4 separate regions of the Homo sapiens genome follow, and regions 1, 3 and 4 are each linked to region 2. Evidence: promoter capture Hi-C in 16 types of primary human blood cells and fetal thymus (Javierre and others, 2016). All regions are on one chromosome and are shown on one strand. Each heading gives the region's core, a stretch centred on a gene start or on the middle of the fragment in contact. The rest is flanking DNA. Distances are from core to core; before and after follow the strand shown. Region 1 has its middle 27 kb from the start of FHL1. Region 2 holds the start of SLC9A6 (solute carrier family 9 member A6). Region 3 overlaps FHL1 (four and a half LIM domains 1). Region 4 has its middle 7.7 kb from the start of FHL1.

Region 1 (5,375 bases), core at 63-2,562, 180 kb after region 2:
AGAATAGCCAGAGTCCCAGTCTGGTTACTAGAAGACACTTTCCCTGTCCTTTCCCCACCTGTAGCCCTTCCAAGCTGGAATGTGCAGAGGTGAGGAACAGACAGAGAGATGGCAGGGAAGCTATTGGCAAGGTGGGAATCTTAGGAAGGAAGTGATTCCGGTTCTTGAAAAAGAGAACCGGATTCCGTCAAGTAGAATCGGTATGAATTGTACCCATCTCTAGGAAACATCAATTCCAGAAGGGTGAATTAGATGAAATATGATAAGACTAGTGTGTGACAGATTCAGGTTTGACGCTTCAGTTGGATTGAATCGAAAGAGAGGTATATTTGGTATCAGGCGTTTGTGGTGGCATGTGAAATCATTATCCACGTTTGATAACAGTTTGACTTTTTGCCTGCTGTAATAATAGTAGTAAGTATGTATTTAACATTCAATGGGTACCTTGTGTGGGGGAGGCCCTGCTAAATGCTTTACATGGACGTACGTCCTTACCTCTATGAGGTAGGTGGCCATTATGATGCTCATAGAGGCTGGACAGCTAATATGAGGCGGAGCCGGTATTTGAGCTCAGGCAGTCTGACTCTGGTGCCCCTGCTGTGAAGAGCTGTGCCCTGCTGCATTCCTCCTGTAGCTGCACGAAAGGGTGTGGAATCTTCTAGAAGCAGTGAGTTCTATATGAGTGGAGTGTGGTGGTGGGAGATGAGATGGAGTAAAGCCTTTGGTGTAAACATACCATGCTAAATACTAGGAGATAGAAATGAAATAAGAAATATTTCTTCCTGACACCAAGATACTTAACATTTTACCGGACAAAGAAAACCTAACATGAAACAATCCAGATTCATATGATAGAATATGAAGATACTGTCTCTACTTAAGTACAGGTGGGAGGAAGACTGGAAGATGTTCCTTTGAATTAAGTCACTTTAAAACATTTGCTTTCAAATGTTAGCGCTTCACCATGGGCACAAAATTTGTCTTCCTCCAGGCTTTTGGCCTGGCAAACAAGAACCCTGTCCCTATAGTCAGCAGATTCATCCATTTTGAGTTGGGAAGCATTATCTTCAGCCTTTTCTTCCTGACAACGATCCTGACAATCGTCGTCAGGATCTCTAAAGAGATGAACTCATTAGCCTAGTGAACCAACAGTCTCAGCTGTTTATTTACCAGCACATTAACAGTTTTTCCATTTATATCCACTGCCTGTGTGACGATCAGCCTGGAAATGGTTTGAGCATAGGGTGGGAGGGGTGGTTACACACCTGGTTGTAATCCTTGGTTTATTTTTGCCCTGTTTCCATCTATACTTCTTGAGAGCTTCCTGTGTTACAGGCACTGACCTGGGTGTTGGGGCAGAGTAGTGAAAAAACAGACTGGGTCCCCCGCCCAAGGCACTGTCTTTTCCTCAGATTTCATTCGCTCATGTACATTTTCATAGTTGATCTAAAAGCGGCATTTGGTGTGAATTCTAGGATTTCACACTTTTAGGATAATACAGTGATCACACTCCCTTTCTCCTTTGCCCCAGCCAGTCCTTTCTGAATAAAGGTCGAGGGATTGGGGGAGGAAGGCAGTGATGCGAATGGGCCTGTGGGGAGGTCGCACGGGCTTGAGGAGGGCAGCATGTCGTAGCGGGCCATATTTGTGTCAGGGTTGGGAACGGCACAAGGCACACCTGTTTCCTAGTGCTGCAGAACCCTCGTCCTGGGATGAGCCTGCCCGCTAGTCTGCATCCTAATCCTGCTGTTGATTGGAGATAACTTCAGCGGTCACAGGGCACCTCGTCTCCATGGCAACCCCTCTAAATATTCCTCTAGTGACTTGTGCTCTACATTCTGGCTGGATCAGAGCCCTCCTGTGGCAAAATATTCTAAAGATGTTAAAAGAGAGAGAGAGAAAAAAAAAGGCTCAACTAATAAATCTATTCTAAACGACTGAGTCATTTGTTTTGATTACCCGGGTGATTGCCAAATGTTAATTTAAAACTGAAATAGGCCATGAGCTCACTCCCCTAACAATGCTGAGTGTTTGAGCTAATACGGCTTGATAATGAGGGAGCCAGATCCACTGCCAGTGCTCATGTTATATGATAAACAGACATTTGGAGAAGTATGCAGAACATCTTGGCAGTTTTCCTTTAACTCTAAGGGTTGTAAATACAAAGTAGAATGTGTTACCATGAGCCATTTCATAGGAAGTTGACTTTATTTTTTTAGAATTCAGAACTTTGCTTCTAAAAAGGTAACTTTGCCTCTTGATTCTCATTTTTTTCCCTAACTTAGGCACCTTGGAAGTTGTTTTCAACCATATCCAGCCTTTGCCGAATACATCCTATCTGCCACACATCCAGCGTGAGGTAAGTTTTACTAATTGCCACAAATTCTTACACTGATCTCCAACCTTCTAAGTTGTGGTATTAGGGGCGGCATTGTACAAAGGGCTTTATTTGTACCAGGAGGTTTCAGAAGGTTCATTTTAATTGACTCAACCAATGTCACTGCTTACCCTAAATATTAGCTCTCGGGGGCAATGTCTTTTCAAGGGAAAATCTCATTTGCTTTCAACTTGGGCATATGAAAAGGGAATTTGCCAGGCACAACAGAACTATTTGAATGTCTGCTTTAAAGTAAAGATCTGCTCATGTCGTTGCACGAACAGTAGGGAGCAGGAAAGCTGCATGGAGCAAATGCTGGGATGGGACAGAGGAGACTCCTGCTGCCAGCCACGAGAAGGTTAGGCTGACCTGATCAGCTATTAGGAATCTTTCTCCCTGGGTGGAAGGAGCCAAGGTGCAGGACTGGCATTGCAAAATCTGGTGATAGAAGGCCAAAGAGTGCTTCTGCTCGGTGACATTAATAGGGTCCAGGAGATTTTCTTCTGATTTGCCCTCAAGTTCAGAACAACCTGTGGGAAGCCAGTGTAAGAATGCTTATACTGGATAAGCGTTCTCTGTCCTCTTCATTTAGCCACAGTGGCTTGTTTATACTCTGTGATGACTCAGGGTTCCTCAATTTTCTCTTTGAGAGAGGGACATTGACCTTTGAAAATAATGAAGGAATCTAAGAGAAGGCTCATCCAGGCACGATACAGTAATGGTCCCTCCTTTTTGGTGCCCCGGTCTCTGTGCGCTCACAAGAGGGAATGTAACCTTTGCCAGCACCATACCTGTCAGGCTTTGCCATTTCATCCCTCAAAAGGTTGCTGCGTTTTTGCCTTCACCTTCACCCTGCCCACCCCTGCATGCAGCCACATGGTCAGTGTAGGTACTTAGATTTCAGTTAGGGTACATGCTCAGCAGGTGACAAGAATTGCCTTTGTTATGTCTACTTGCTACAGAATTCTCCCCAGGTTTTAAAATATATATCTTCAAATACCTAAATGTATTAAACCTTAAAGAGTAAAAAGCATAGGACAAACTTTTAGAAATGCTAAACCTGAATTTTATCCATTTCATCAATTATGGTGGTAGTCGGAAGTCCTTCCAAGGCCCTCGGGCTTGAAGCAAGCTCGGTGATACAAGCTTTCAGCAGCTTCCCTCTGCTGCTGGAGATGGAATCTTCATTTCTGGGTCTAAATCCTGCCATAGCTCTCATTCATAGCCTTTACCTATAATGGTTGTTTTCAAACTTAAAAAAAATGATAGAAACCTATCTTCAAAAAATACAAATCTTTAGATCTAACCCCAATAGAGAAAACCAAAGCTGAACTGCTTTGGCTCAAGTAGGAGGCTGTGACTCTCTGTCACCCTCCTCTAAGGGTGAACCCTATTGAAAGAGCAGAGATTTTAGCTCTGTGCCCTTTCCCAGCTCTTATTTTTATTTTCCCACAGAAGAGGCTAGATTCTTTAAGGAGATATAAAGAAGGGAGAGAGAAAGATATAAAGATTCTTTAAGGAGATACAAAGACATCCTCTCATCAGCTGGAAATGCCAGCTAGGTGAGACCTGACTATGCATATGCATTGTTTGCCCTTAGTAATTCCATAGCAATCTGCAAATTCAATCAGCTTCATCAGCAGAAAACTTTGATAGAAACCATGTGTAAAAGGGCTGTGTTCTTAAAGTGGAACATTTAAATCGAAGTTTTTCAAGCACACATTTCAAGTGGTTTTATGATACCAAGCACACCCCAGTGACATCTTTACATTGACCAAAACTTGGTATCCTTGGGTTTTCTTTTAAAGCACTGAGTTTCTCAGGTGTGTCAGTTGAATAGAATCTGCTAAATTCTGTTTTTTTTATTTTTTTAAATTTTTTATTGATTTATTTTTTTTTATGGAGTCTTGCTTTGTCGCTCAGGCTGGAGTGCAGTGGTGCAAGTGCAGTGGTGCGATCTGGCTCAGTGCAACCTCCGTCTCCCAGGTTCAAGCAATTCTCCTGCCTCAGCCTCCCAAATACCTGGGATTACAAGCGTCTCTACATCAACATGCCTGGCTAATTTTTGTAATTTTAGTAGAGACAGGGTTTCATCATGTTGGCTAGGCTGGTCTCAAACTCCTGGCCTCAAGCGATCCGCCCTCCTTGGCCTCCCAAAGTGCTGGGATTACAGGCGTGAGCCACTGCGCCCGGCCAAATCTGTTAAATTCTGTTTCCATGTAACAGAAATATATAGGATTACACAACTGCATCTGGTGTTCTTTCTTCCTTTCTTTTATTCATTCATTCAGCCCTACTATGGGCCAGGGCAGGAATGTAGTGGTGAGCACAAAAACAACAAAAAAATACCTTTTGGGTTTGATATTCTTCAAGGGTGGGACATGCCTAGATTATTTTCTCTTTTGCAGACAAGGAAACTGAAAATTGCTTTGCTTTTCTCAATTACATTGCCCAGTATTCAGTAGACAGGTATGGATGCAGGGGTACAGTTCCAAGTCCCCATCTCTACTCTATTCTTTGAGCCTATGATTTATGCCACTTCCATATAAGCATGTGCAAATAAAGTATTCAGTAATTGCCATGGATGCAGCTGTCCCTGGGACCCGAAGGCCCTAAAATGAAAATAAATGTAAACTGTGCGTTTCACACTCTATTTTTAAAACGTTTGTTTGGAATAATTGAATAGTTTAGTAAAATGGGCTTTGCTGTTTCCACATGAGGATATCTTGTTCTTTTATTTTTTATTTTTTTTGAGACGGAGTCTCACTCTGTCGCCCAGGCTGGAGTGCAGTGGTGCAATCTCGGCTCACTGCAATCTGTACCTCCCAGGTTCAAGCGATTCTCCTGCCTCAGCCTCCCAAGTAGCTGGGATTACAGATGCGTGCCACCATGCCTAGCTAATTTTTGTATTTTTAGTGGAGACGGGGTTTCACCATGTTGGCCAGGCTGGTCTCGAACTCCTTACCTCAAGTGATCCGCCTGCTTTGGCCTCCCAAAG
Region 2 (4,630 bases), core at 1,826-4,325:
GAGAAGGAGCCACTGAAGATGGTGGAGGTGGAGGGCGGGGGTTGGGGGGGGCGGTGATTGTTGGAGTAGATCCTGGAAGAAGAGGAAAGGAAGTGATGACATGCAGAGTACAGTTTGGTCAATTCGCTTTTTTTTTTTTTTTGAGACAAAGTCTCACTCTGTCACCCAGTCTGGCCCAATATCAGCTCACTGCAACCTCCATCTCCTGGACTCAAGCCCTTTTCCTTCCTCAGCCTCCTCAGTAGCTGGTGCTACAGGCACGCGCCACCATGCCCGGCTAATTTCTGTTAATTTTGTAGAGACAGGGTTTCACTATGTTGCCCAGGCTGGTCTTGAACTCCTGGGCTCAAGTGATTCTCCCGCCTTGGCCTCCCAAATTGCTGAGATCAAAGGCGTAAGCCACCATGCCTGGCCAATTAGCTTCTTAAGGGAGAAGGAAACACTTCTTCCACTGTGGCTGGGGGGAGAAAGAAAGGATGGGCACTGATGGGATATTTAAGTAGATAGCAGGGTAGGATTTTCCCAGAATGCCTTGACTTTCTCAGTGACAAAAGAAGCAAGGCTGGATTCCTGGTGAGTTGTCTATATGAGCAGTGAAGTCACTCAGGATGATGTCAGGCCTGGGGAGTGGGGTGAGAGGAGAGAGGAAGCCTGTGAAACAGATTCCCTAGTACTCAGCAAATGTGTAGGAGTGACCAGGAAGTCAATAAGTGAGGACCATGGGGAAGGAGAAGGTGTTAGAGCTTCAATGGAGGGTGGAGGGGTAATGAGTTTGAAACAATGTGAAACAATGGGAGTGAGCACAGTGCCAACTCCTTCAGGCCACCTGATGCAGGGTGTGAGTTGTGTATACGTGTGTATATGTGTGCAGGACAGTGGGGCTGTGACCAAATGAACATGAACAACCTCCACTTGCAATAGCGTCAGAGCGTGTGATATCCTGGGAGAGACATGGGTTCTGGTAATGAGAGGAGATGGAGGGGCCATCCATGCAGTGACTGAGAGGGTTGAGTAGTATGTTTACAAGGAAGAACGTTCCAAGGAGCACACCGACTAACATGGAAAGGGAGGGAAGTAGCAAGAGGAGAAACCCGGGTGTAGGCGTCAGAAGTATAGAGCAGTGCTGGATGGAGAGAGAAGTACATTCTCGGGGGAGCAGAAGCCTCAGGGGGATTGGCTGCCTGGTAGAAGTTACTACCATTTCAAGATTCCTCCTAGAACTCGAGTACAAAGAGATTGCTGAGGGGCATACTAAGTTGCTGGGGCCACATAAACAGAGGTGGAGTCTGGTGCTTGAAGACATTTCCTGACTCTGGTCAGGGAAGCAATCTGTGGCTTCGGGTTTTTTTTTTTTTTTTTCAAGTTCCCAACACTCAGTGAAAAGTGGGTTTATGCTGGGACAAAACAGCCTTGGAATGAGCAGTTAGCAGGTAAGCTCATTTACTAGGTCTTCTGGGGAGAGGATGATGGGGAGAATGGGAAGGATCCTCACCTAGGTTTCTTGCTTCCACAAAGCCCAGCTCTGTGTGAACAGGACAGTGTGGTTCAAGTGGAGTCAGGGTATAGGGGAACAGGCAGCCATGAGGTTTCTTGGGAAGACACAGACCCAAGTACTAATAGCAGAGAATGGGCACACAGTCACTGGCTCTGATTTGGGACAGTTCCTGACCTGACAGGGACAGAAAGTGGAATTGGACATCGTTTGAGTGCTTTTTTTGTTTAGCTCATCATCCTGAGAGCTTAGAGAGCTGGTTAGTGAGGGTGAATACACACAGGGGCAGCTTGGAGTTGCCTGAGTATTACTTGTTTTAGCAAGGAGGTTATATGGCCATGAGATGGAAAGAACCATTTGAGAATCATGAGTTCCAGGCAGAATGATAGGAATTGAACTGACAGTGGTACCACTGATGGTATGAAGAATTTGAGAAGGAATTTGTACTTGCAGGGGGAACTCATTTCAAATGAGCTCATTTCAAAATATTTTTAGTTTTGAGGGTGGTAGGAGCCTCAACAGGGTATGCTCAGAATCCAACAGGTAGAGGCCTGAAGTTGGGGCAGCAGGCCAGGGCTTGAGACTTGTAGATCATTCATGTTGAAATCAAAGTCTTGAGAAAACAAAGAGCCCACACAAACTAAGGAGCGATCGGAGAAATACAGAAAAAATAGGAAGTCACTGTTCTCAAAAGACAAAGCTCCAGTATGGAGGTGAGAACTGTGAAAATTCTGGTGAGAGAGGTTGGACAGGCTGAGAACAGAAAAAAAATACTGTCCTGAGGAATACTAAAGAGGAGAGATGAGAGATAGGGGTCAAGGGTGACTTCGGAGCTGGGGACATTTGCTTTAAAACAGCAGTAAAAAGGAGCAAGAGGAGAAGGAGAAATCCACCACACCACCCAAGATTTTTTCTTCGGGAGGGAAGTGTTTACGAGCATTGGGAAATCTAAGCACAAACCGATCCAATCTTTGCTGTAAGGTTGATGAGTTTCTGTGTACAGATTCCTAGCGTGAGAGATGACTTATATCAGATGTTTACATGTAAAGAAAACCGACTACACAGACACACACATAATCCATACCTTTGAGTCGATTGTTTTATGAACTGCTACAGTGCTCTGTGTGTGTGTGGTGTTTTTTTGTGTTTTTTTTTTTTTCTTTCCCGATGAGGACAATACAAGGAGAATCCGATTTAAATTTAAATTACAGAGATGGAGATTGAGGCTCCTCCCAAGGGGACAACTTATCCTGTTAAGAGACACTGGGGGACGATATTGAGATGGGTTATGAAAGATCAATTCCTATGAAAGATCAATTCCCCTGAGAGCTCTGAGAATAGGATCAAAGTAGAAAGCGCAGTCTGCCTCTGCTTGGTTACACTGAGCCGATGTTTCTTTAGCCAAAGGCAGTGGGCTAGTTTAGACGGCCTTTCATTCCCGGCAGCGCCTGTGGGTGCGTGTGACCTGGGACAGAGGGGCAAAGGAACCTGGCAGAGCGAGCTTGGGATGCCGCGGCCCCTTTAAGAGCGGCGGCGGCGGCGCGCGCTCCGACGGCTACCCCCGGGCCCCGCCCCTTTCCCGTGAGCCCTCGGGGAGTGGTCCGACCGCGGGCGGCCGCCGGTGAGGTAGGGGCGGGAGGCGGGGGGAGACATGGCTCGGCGCGGCTGGCGGCGGGCACCCCTCCGCCGTGGCGTCGGCAGCAGTCCCCGAGCCCGCAGGCTCATGCGGCCCCTTTGGTTGCTCCTCGCAGTGGGCGTCTTTGACTGGGCAGGGGCTTCGGACGGCGGCGGCGGAGAGGCTAGAGCCATGGACGAGGAGATCGTGTCCGAGAAGCAAGCCGAGGAGAGCCACCGGCAGGACAGCGCCAACCTGCTCATCTTCATCCTGCTGCTCACCCTCACCATTCTCACAATCTGGCTCTTCAAGCACCGCCGGGCCCGCTTCCTGCACGAAACCGGCCTGGCTATGATTTATGGCAAGTTCCTCAACCCTTGTCAGCCCCTTGGCGCTGCCCCTTTCTCTGCCCGCCGGCTGCTTCGCCTCCTCTGCTGGCCCTGCTCGGCCTACGTTCGGCTCCCCTTCTAATTCCTTCCATTTTCTGCCTCGCCTTCCCCCTACCCCGCGTTTCTCTGCCTCACCCCCTTTCCTCTTCAGCCTCGCGCCCCATTTTATCTGCCTCTCCACACCTTTTTCGCTTCCGACCCCACCCCCTTTTTCCTCCGCACCCCCAGCCCCCCACCCTTTCCCTGCCTACCAAGCTCGGGACCCGGGGCTGAGGATGGAAAACGAGTGGGCGCGGTGTCTGGAATTGGGCTGGGGGCTGGGGGAGGGGAGACACCATTGCGATCCATTTCTCTGGGGTGTCAGTTTGTTTAAGGTTCATTGAAACTGCAGTAGTATCTCTACTGCCCAGAATCTGGCGTTCTTTTGGAGCCAGAGTCGACCTTTACTCAACACCTAGCTCCTGCTACGCCCTGTCCTTTCGAGGTTGCAAAGGAAAATCTTATTCTTGTGGAGTCCGAAAAAAAAAACCCGAACGTGAAATAGGCTACAGAAGGCTTAGGGCATTTTTAATGACATCCCATTTATTGTACTATGCCTCTAATATCTGATATGGATACCTGTGGTTGACCCTTCCAATTCAGGCATACAAAAGTGAGGACGAGGAAGAGTTAAGGTCCTTCCAGAAGTATAGTGTACTATACGATGATCAGGACAGTTCAGACAAACAGTAATTACAAACACCATGCATATGCAGTATGGGTGACTTGCTGTTGGCATGAGGTTATTGACCGATTGTAGAATAAATGGCTTCGATTCTTGTGTCTCAGTCTGCTTTCTGAGGTTTATTATTATTATTATTATTATTATTTTGGTGACAAGGCGAGAAGGGGTAAATCAAAGTGTGGGCTCAGAGGCATTTTGAGCTGTGCTGGGGCCTCAAGAGGAGAAAAGATACATATTGCCGACTGTATTAATCTGTGCGGGTATTGCTAAAGAGATGAGGGCGGACAAACAATTCTTTCTGTGCAGTACATGTGTGAAGATTATCTTCATTTGGAGCAGTTAAACCGATGAGCTTGTTGAGGTTTGTCTCTCAGACTTGCAGATAGGTAGATGAAGCTTTGGCACAAAAG
Region 3 (2,976 bases), core at 477-2,976, 220 kb after region 2:
TGGTCAGTCCCAGGGAAATCAGCCTTATGGGAGGGCTCCTGCCACCACCCCCAGCACCCCTCATGGTGGCCCACCCTGTCTGCTTGGTTTCCAGGAGGTGCACTATAAGAACCGCTTCTGGCATGACACCTGCTTCCGCTGTGCCAAGTGCCTTCACCCCTTGGCCAATGAGACCTTTGTGGCCAAGGACAACAAGATCCTGTGCAACAAGTGCACCACTCGGGAGGACTCCCCCAAGTGCAAGGGGTGCTTCAAGGCCATTGTGGCAGGTACTGCCTCCTTCCCACCCCGGGTTCCCAGGGAGGAGGCCCTGAGGGCAGACGTGATGTGGGCTTGCTTATCATGGTGGGGCTAACGTTGCTCTGAGCTGCTTTGAGATCTTAGCATATATATGTACACATATACATACACGTATATATGCGTACACATATATGCTCGCACACACGCACACACTCGGAGACTAAAGAACACTGGCGAGAACAGCCTGTGGCAACAGAATGAAGTGAACAGTATGTAGCGCTTTCTCATTTGGGCGTAGTAAGTGATGAAAGCATGCTTCTTCCTCAGGGTGTCATTCTGGGCCAGGCAGTCCCTGATTTAATGTCTAAGTGCACGCAGGGTATAGAGGTGGGGGAGTGGGGGATTCAGGCACTGGATCCTAAAATAATAATGCTGGGGTCCCCACCCATGACAGAAATCCTGGGTTGGCACAAGCACAAGTAGAACACAGGTAGGTTAGTTGGAGGTGTGAGGCCAGTAACTGCAGGGCCTGCATCCCCTCACCTCTGGAGGGCCTGGGGAGGGGAGCTGAGTGGATGCAGCCCCCTGCAGAGCCTGTCAGTGGGGCTATCCAATTGCTTCCCTCTGCAGGAGATCAAAACGTGGAGTACAAGGGGACCGTCTGGCACAAAGACTGCTTCACCTGTAGTAACTGCAAGCAAGTCATCGGGACTGGAAGCTTCTTCCCTAAAGGGGAGGACTTCTACTGCGTGACTTGCCATGAGACCAAGTTTGCCAAGCATTGCGTGAAGTGCAACAAGGTATGCTTTCAAGGGAGTTCTGCATTGACCGTTGTTTCTAGAAGTGTTTGACAGTTTGCAGAGCACTTCCACACACACTATCCCATTCCATCCTCACGACAGCCCTGTGACGTAGGAATTATTATTCCCGTTTTACAGATGAGGAGATCGTGGATTAGGAAGCAGTGCCACAGCCAAGTCAGGCTGTCAGTACGCATCCTCAGCCTGGTGGTGCGGGTGGCCCGTATGGCATGCTGAGCTGGGCAGCCCTGGCTCTAGAAGCCTGCCTCCACCACTTAGGGGCTGTGTAACCTCACATAGGGGCTCACCTTCTCCGAGCCTTGGTGTCTTCATCTGTAAAGTGGGGATAATAATAGCCCCTGCCTCCCATGGCTGTTGTGGAGATTAAATGAGATATTGTATACCAAAGCGCCCAGCACAGTGCCTGGCACGCAGTAGGCATTCAACAAAATGGTTGTTGAATCTGAATCCGGTGCTACACTCCCTGGTCTAGGCCATCACATCTGGAGGAATCACTTACCAGGATCAGCCCTGGCATGCCGATTGCTTTGTGTGTGTTACCTGCTCTAAGAAGCTGGCTGGGCAGCGTTTCACCGCTGTGGAGGACCAGTATTACTGCGTGGATTGCTACAAGAACTTTGTGGCCAAGAAGTGTGCTGGATGCAAGAACCCCATCACTGGTAGGCTAAAGAGTCCTTGCTAAGTCTGCCAGGCTAGGTTTTGCGCATGGTAACCATCTCTCATTTTCCTGTCGTCGGTTTCATCCACAAAGGCCCCCAGAGAATGCCCTTCTCCCCCTGCTATTGTGGTCCCAAAGGCCCCCCAAGAGTTTGGATTCGTCCCCAGGCCAGGTTAGCCTTTGCAATACAGAACACTTCCTGACTGTTGACTAACAATGCTGAGAGTTCACAAGCCTGAGACCTGCCAGCCAACACCGGCAGGCACTGCCACTTTGCAGGGGGATTCTGGGGGGAGGGGTGGGAGGAGGGTAGAAAGAAGGGGGTGGGGGAGGGTGGGGAAGGGGTAAGGGAGGCCGAAGAGTGATAACCCGGGATTGTAATACCCCATAGCTGAAGGCTAGTTCAGAGATGCCTGTTGGCAGGGTTTCTTTTTTTTTTGGTTTGCTGTTTATTTGTTTTTGCGATCAGCAAAGCTAATCACTTCATTCCTCATCTCGCGGCCGCGATCCACGTGCCCTGGGCCCTTTCCCTTGCCTCCAATTTTCCCATCTTCCCGGGGAGCCTTGAAATGTACATTTGAGAAGACTTTTGCCATCCTCAGGGAAAAGGACTGTGTCAAGAGTGAGCCACCCAGTCTCTAAAGCTAGGAAGCCCCCAGTGTGCCACGGGAAACGCTTGCCTCTCACCCTGTTTCCCAGCGCCAACCTCCGGGGCAGGCATCCGGGTGGAGAGAGGACTTGTCCCTCGTGGGTGGTGGTTCTTTATAGAAAAAATCGAAGCTTAGCAGCTCCTCGAGGCCCGGTAAGTGCACACCCCACGAACAGCCCAAGTTTGCCTCCTGGTGGCCACTTTGATGTCATGGCCCTGACCTAAATCAAAGAAACTGGTTATGCTGGGAGGTCGGTGCGCGTCACAGGGCAATAGCGTGGTGGCATGGGAACGTGGGGTCTTTACATCAGGGAAGCCCTTGGCCGGGCTTCAGCATCTTCTCAGGTCCTTGAGAGCCACAGCAGGGTTGCGGCGGCATGGGGGACAATGGCGGCGTGGGGGACTGTGCACGATGGAGTGGAGGAGGGGGTCTGGGAGCCAGGCAGACCTGGCTCTTGCGTGCTTGTCGGTCTGTGAGTGGGGCAGGTCGTCATTTTATCTCTCTGAATCGTGGTTTCCTCACCTGTATTCATTCAGCTGTTTCTCTTGTTTTCTTTTCTTTTCTTTTTTTTTCCCCCCAGGGTTTGGTAAAGGCTCCAGTGTGGTGG
Region 4 (5,329 bases), core at 474-2,973, 200 kb after region 2:
TTAGCTGGGCATGGTGGCACGCACCTTTAGTTCCAGCTACTCAGGAGGCTGAGGCAGGAGAATCGCTTGAGCCCGGGAGGCAGAGGTTGCAGTGAGCCGAGATCGCACCATTGCACTCCAGCCTGGGCGACAGAGCGAGACTCCATCTCAAAAAAAAAAAAATATATATATATATATAGATAGATAGATAGATAGATAGATAGATAGATAGATAGATTTCTTACAGCATTGTGATAACAAATATTTGTCAATAAGAGACTAACTGTGGTATAGCTTTACAATTGGATACTATGTACATGTTCAAAAAGTAGAAGCTCTTTACGTACTGACAAGGAAAATTCTCTGAATATAAATAAATAGAACTAGCAATAGAATTAATAGAAAAAGCAAGGTGCAGAGGAGTATGTATAGTATACCACTATTTATGTTTTTTTTTTTAAAAGAGGAAAAAGAAAAAATATATAGCTGCCTATCTTTTATAAGCCCAGTATCTCCAGAAGCATAAAGAAGACACTGGTATCATTGGTTATCAGTGGAGAGGGGGAAGTAGATGTCTGGGGATAGATAGGGGGAAGAATACTTTTCACTATGTATTCTTTCATACTTCTTCAAAAATACATCTTTGGAAATAAACCCATGCAAAAAAAAGAATGTTCACAGCAGTATTATAGTGGCTAAAAAGTGGAAATAACCCAAATGTCCATTACCTGATGAATGGTTGAACAATATGTGGTGTATCTGTACAATGGACTATTATTCAGCCATAAAGAGAACTGAAGTACTGATGCATGCTATAGCATGAATGAACCTCGAAAACATTATACTAAGGGAAAGAAATCTGCCACAAAAAGCTGCATATTGTGTGATTCCATTTTTATGAAAGCATTATGCTAAGTGAAAGAAATCAGCCACAGAAGGCCATATATTGTATGATTCCATTGCCAGAAGTGGCACATCCATAAAGACAGAAAGTAGGTTAGTGGTTCCCACGGGGTGGGGGTGGGGTATGCAGAGTGATGGCTAAGAGGTCCAGGATTTCTTTGGGGGTGATGAAAATGCAGAATCAGATGGTGGTAATGATTGATATACATTATGAATATACTAAAAGCTGCTGAATTGTACACTTTATAAAGGTGAATTTTATGATATATAAATTATTTTAAATTTTACTTAGAGATGGGGATCTCACTATGTTGCCCAGGCTAGTCTTGAACTCCTGGCTTCAAGCAATCCTTCTGCCTTGGCCTCCCAAAGCACAGGCATGTAAATTATATCTCAATAAATAAAATAACATAGCAAAACAACTTGAAGTCATGAACATGGAAACTTAAAGAATCACTGTGAACATATAAAACAAAAGTTTTCACCTAAGAAATGTTTTTATTCTAAAATATTTTACATATTATCTCTATAATGACAAAGGACTTCATGTTCTTTAGCTACCTTCACTCACACTCACCTGGAATTATTTCATTTTATAAGTGAAGATTGTTAACCCAAATGAAGCCCTGATTGATAAAATTTTGGGTAAAATAACTAAAGAAAGAATGTGTGATTATCTGGAATTGAGATGTTGTAGCTGCAGGCCTTGCCCAGGCTGTGCCAGTAGGAGAGGAGGTACGGAGCCTCAGAGAATCTTTTGGACCAGTGTGCCCTTTCTCTCCTCACAGCTCATCCCAGAGCTGTCCCTGCCTCCTTAGGCTGATATGCCCCTGTTCCCTTCCTTGTGTTCTCCTGCAGTGAGCTGAGGCACAGGGTTTAGGGAGCCTATTATGATAGGAGGAGATTAACTTTGGGGTTCTGGGATGAGATCTGTGGACCTGAAAATATAGCCTCTCTGATCCTAGTCACTAACTGCTCATGCATGGAGAGTGACAGCTAAGAGGTCCGGGGTTTCTTTTGGGTGGGGATGTGAGGTGCTGGGTCATTATGGACATACGGCAATGGTCTGTCTACACAATGGTCAGATAATAGTCTTCTTACAGTCATCCCAACTCTAGATGCTTTAGCCGGAGTTCATCTTGGGGTGGGTATGGGGGATTGACCACAACGTGTTTTTGGTCAAGAGTCGGGTAGATGGTGCATATTTTGGTTCTGCCACCCCTGGGACCTTGGGCATTGCTGTACTCACCCAAGCTATGTCTCGGCACAAACAGCCTCATCTCCTGAGCTGTAGAGTCATTTCTGTAAGTGGCTTGATGAGATAGGGTCTTTTAGATCCATGTCCTTGGCATTTATTCAGAATTAACTCACATAATATGATGCTAATCTGCATTCTGGCTGGAGCTGCATATAGGTAGCCTCTTTTCATTGTTGGCCTTTATAGCCAACTTAAGCTCAGAGATGTGAATCAAGGGTGGCCTGCCTGATGAATTAGTGCTTATAAGGTAAACCCTTATTTGTTGTGTTGGAAAGTTTATTGACTCTAGCCAGAAAAGGTCTAATTAGCCACTGGGCCCTTTCCTGGCAGGGAGGATGTAGGGAAGACCCTCTGCAGCTCAAGACTGGACAGGTGACCTAGACCTATTGGGTATTTATTTCATTAGAGGATCAATAGAGCAGAGATTTGTTCTCCCCAGGTCTCCATCATCTGTTCATAAACCCTCCTGACCCATGTTGAGTCCACAGCTGTCTCCACTGGGCTGTCAAGCTGCTGAGGCCAATTCCTCTGAGTCCCTAGGACTTTGAGTTTTGCTCTCTGCTGCCCCAGTCATTCTCAGGCCCATGGTCCTTGCAGCTGGGCTCTTGGCCAACATCCTGAGCCCTTATCTCTTTTCCACATATTCCCTGTGAATTAGTAAACTTGATAAATTCTATTTGTAGGAATCTGCTGCTTGGGTCGGCCACATTTTTAGCGTGTAGTTGAATTAATAATATATAGTGCTTACTGTGTGCCAGCCACTGCTCTAAATGTTGCAAATATTTACTGCTGTATTTCTCACAATGACCCTTTTACATAGGTACTATTATCATCCCCATTTTACAGATGGGCAAATTTAGTCACAGAGAAGTTAAGTGAAACTTGCCAATGTCATACAACCAGTAAGTGATAGAGGCAGGATTCGAATTTAGATATTCTGGCTTCAGTCTGTGCTCTTAGCCACTGCACTATATTCTCTTGAATCATTATAAAATAGATATACTAATCTCAGGGCAAATTTCCTACTATTTGTCTTGGAACTAACCATGTTAATTGTTCAACCAATCTCATATAAAGTTAAGCCTTAAATTTCTTTCATGGAAGCCTTCAAAAATAGTTATGGTCCAGTCTAAACCGTTTTACCTGAATTTCATTGAATGCAATAGGACAATCACTCCTTGTTTCACTCTCTGTACCTTAGATAATCTGGTCTTATTTATACCAGTTAGGTACCTACTTCCCATGTTTGTTCTTGTTGATTATCATTGGAAATGAGCAAGAAGGGTGGGGATGTGAGGTGAATGGGGTGTGATCTTTCCACGTACATGTCCTTTGATGGCTTCTGCTCCTCTAGCTGCAGACTCTCCTTGCGTTCTCCTTTCTGGACTTCGTGTTCCTGTCATTCTGTTTCATGTACTTGCTGCCTGGCATGGTGAACTTGTTGTTTGACTTCAAGGGCTTTGAAATCACTCACTCTTGTTCCTTAAGTGTCAGCTGTTTAGGTAGAGCCTCTGCTTCCGCATCCAACCTAGTCCATATCTCTCTCAGCTCTGCGTCAACTACTGCTTCCAAGTTAGCCAAAGTTTATCCATAAACTTTGTTTTTCTTTTTAAGTTTAATAGGGTTTAATTGAGCAAAGAACGATTCGCGAATCAGGCGGCCTCTCGAACCAGAGTAGGCTAAGAGACTCCAGCATTAACCATTAACTGTGGCTGAGATAACTTGACTGGACTCTTGCTGCTGCATGAGAGAATCTGCAAAATGTGTCATCTACACACACAACTGTCCCTTAGTCTCAGGGTCTGTGACCCAGCTTAACCTCTGTTGATGAATATAAAGTCAAGGGATAACAAACCCCCTTTACCATACATAGCATTCCTAAGGTTTACATTGTCATGAGTAAAGATCCCTTGCTAATACGGTACAAGGAATAGTGCCTTCGGAGTCCAGACACTCAGCTTCTAGACCTGGAGCAGCTGTTAACTCAGGGAAGCAGGTGATCTCTCCATCTCTGGGCCTCAGCTTTTCCATCTATAAAATGAGGTGATTGGATTAGGTGGTATCTAAGACCATTTCCAACTCTATCATGCCATTTTTATGAAGCTGGAGACACCCTCAGACCTGGCCCACTTTATCTTCAGGTCCGCCAATCCTCTCCAACTTGTGGAGGAGCCTATACTCTGTCCTTACCATGCACAGGTTGACGAACAGGGAAGACAAGCTGCCATTGAGGGTGGTAATCTAATGGCAGACCACACACCAACAGGATCACTCTGGTTCTGCAGCTGAGTTTTCACAAAACAGTGCCTGTCCTGGCACAACAGAAGAGCTCCTTCCACAGAAAGTTATTCCTATTTGCTCTCTCAGATACGAATCACTGTGGGCCACCGCGCTCCTCTGTCCACCTGTGGTTACTCCTGCATTGAATCTGAATCAAGACACTGCTCAGGCAGTCAAATGTTGGCCTTCGGGGAAACTTGGCAGATGGGAGCCAAGTGAGCTTTCACTTTATGTACTTTCAGTCCTCTGGAAATCTGGATTTCCCCTGCTATCAAAATAGACAATGCTATTGCCTAACAAAATATAGACTTCCTGAGTGACATCCAGGTCACGGCTTGATCTCTTTCCTCCTGCTGTGTTCATGCTTCCACTTCCGTGCACCATGTTAGGTTCAGATGATCTACTGACCAAACCCCAGAGAACCACTCATGAGTCTTTTCAACCTTTACCTTGAATTCTAGGGCTATCTTCTATTTGGGGTTTGAAAACACCAGTGCATAATAAAGTAATGTATTAATTATAGTTTTTTGGTAAATAAAGATAGATCGTATGTTACTAGCCTTGATGTTTCACACAATGAAGCAGAGCTCATGAATTATTATAACATCCCTGATCAAGGCAGTTGATCTCAGTTATCAGCATTAAGAATAAAGGTATGGATGGAAGCTTATTTGATTTGTTCTTCTTTCCTATTATGGATATTAACCAGCTGGGTAAATTATAGAATAGGGTCATGGAATGTTTAGCCCTCAAGCATTTATCAGAGGCTTAAAATGTTCATAAAAGGTGGGCTTGGTGAATGCCAGGACTTAGCATGGTTGAAAGGGTGTTTTGAGTCATGGTACATGGCAATATGGAAATAAAACAGATATGTCACAAGTAGGTGGTAGAAATAAACTGGAAGAGAAT

Evidence for each region. Contacts are between HindIII fragments. The CHiCAGO score rates a contact against its expected background, and 5 or more counts as called.
Region 1: a fragment that was not itself captured here is called in contact with the fragment with the promoter of SLC9A6 in region 2 in 1 of 17 cell types (M2 macrophages); the score reaches 5.7 in M2 macrophages.
Region 3: a fragment that was not itself captured here is called in contact with the fragment with the promoter of SLC9A6 in region 2 in 5 of 17 cell types (naive CD4 T cells, M1 macrophages, M2 macrophages and 2 more); the score reaches 6.6 in naive CD4 T cells.
Region 4: a contact is called between a fragment that was not itself captured here and the fragment with the promoter of SLC9A6 in region 2, in 2 of 17 cell types (M2 macrophages and M1 macrophages). The highest score is 5.6, in M2 macrophages.

What each region holds. Positions count from the first base shown.
Region 1 is chrX:136,167,622-136,172,996 of GRCh38, forward strand. It overlaps a transcript of FHL1 not described here. Among named protein-coding and RNA genes, the nearest start is that of FHL1, 27 kb to the right of the region's middle. The HindIII fragment of the contact is 4,417 bases long and covers 1-3,521 here.
Region 2 is chrX:135,982,360-135,986,989 of GRCh38, forward strand. It overlaps SLC9A6 (solute carrier family 9 member A6), which reads left to right and starts at 3,076. Exons shown (of 18, transcript NM_001379110.1): 1 at 3,076-3,118; 2 at 3,244-3,468. The coding sequence starts at 3,300. RefSeq lists a silencer at 2,967-3,206 and an enhancer at 3,357-3,476. The HindIII fragment of the contact is 4,728 bases long and covers 1-4,614 here.
Region 3 is chrX:136,206,922-136,209,897 of GRCh38, forward strand. FHL1 (four and a half LIM domains 1) reads left to right here. Exons shown (of 6, transcript NM_001159699.2): 3 at 95-269; 4 at 871-1,040; 5 at 1,534-1,720; 6 at 2,950-2,976. Among named protein-coding and RNA genes, the nearest start is that of FHL1, 11 kb to the left of the region's middle. The HindIII fragment of the contact is 1,541 bases long and covers 957-2,497 here.
Region 4 is chrX:136,186,705-136,192,033 of GRCh38, forward strand. It overlaps a transcript of FHL1 not described here. Among named protein-coding and RNA genes, the nearest start is that of FHL1, 7.7 kb to the right of the region's middle. The HindIII fragment of the contact is 6,722 bases long and covers 1-5,084 here.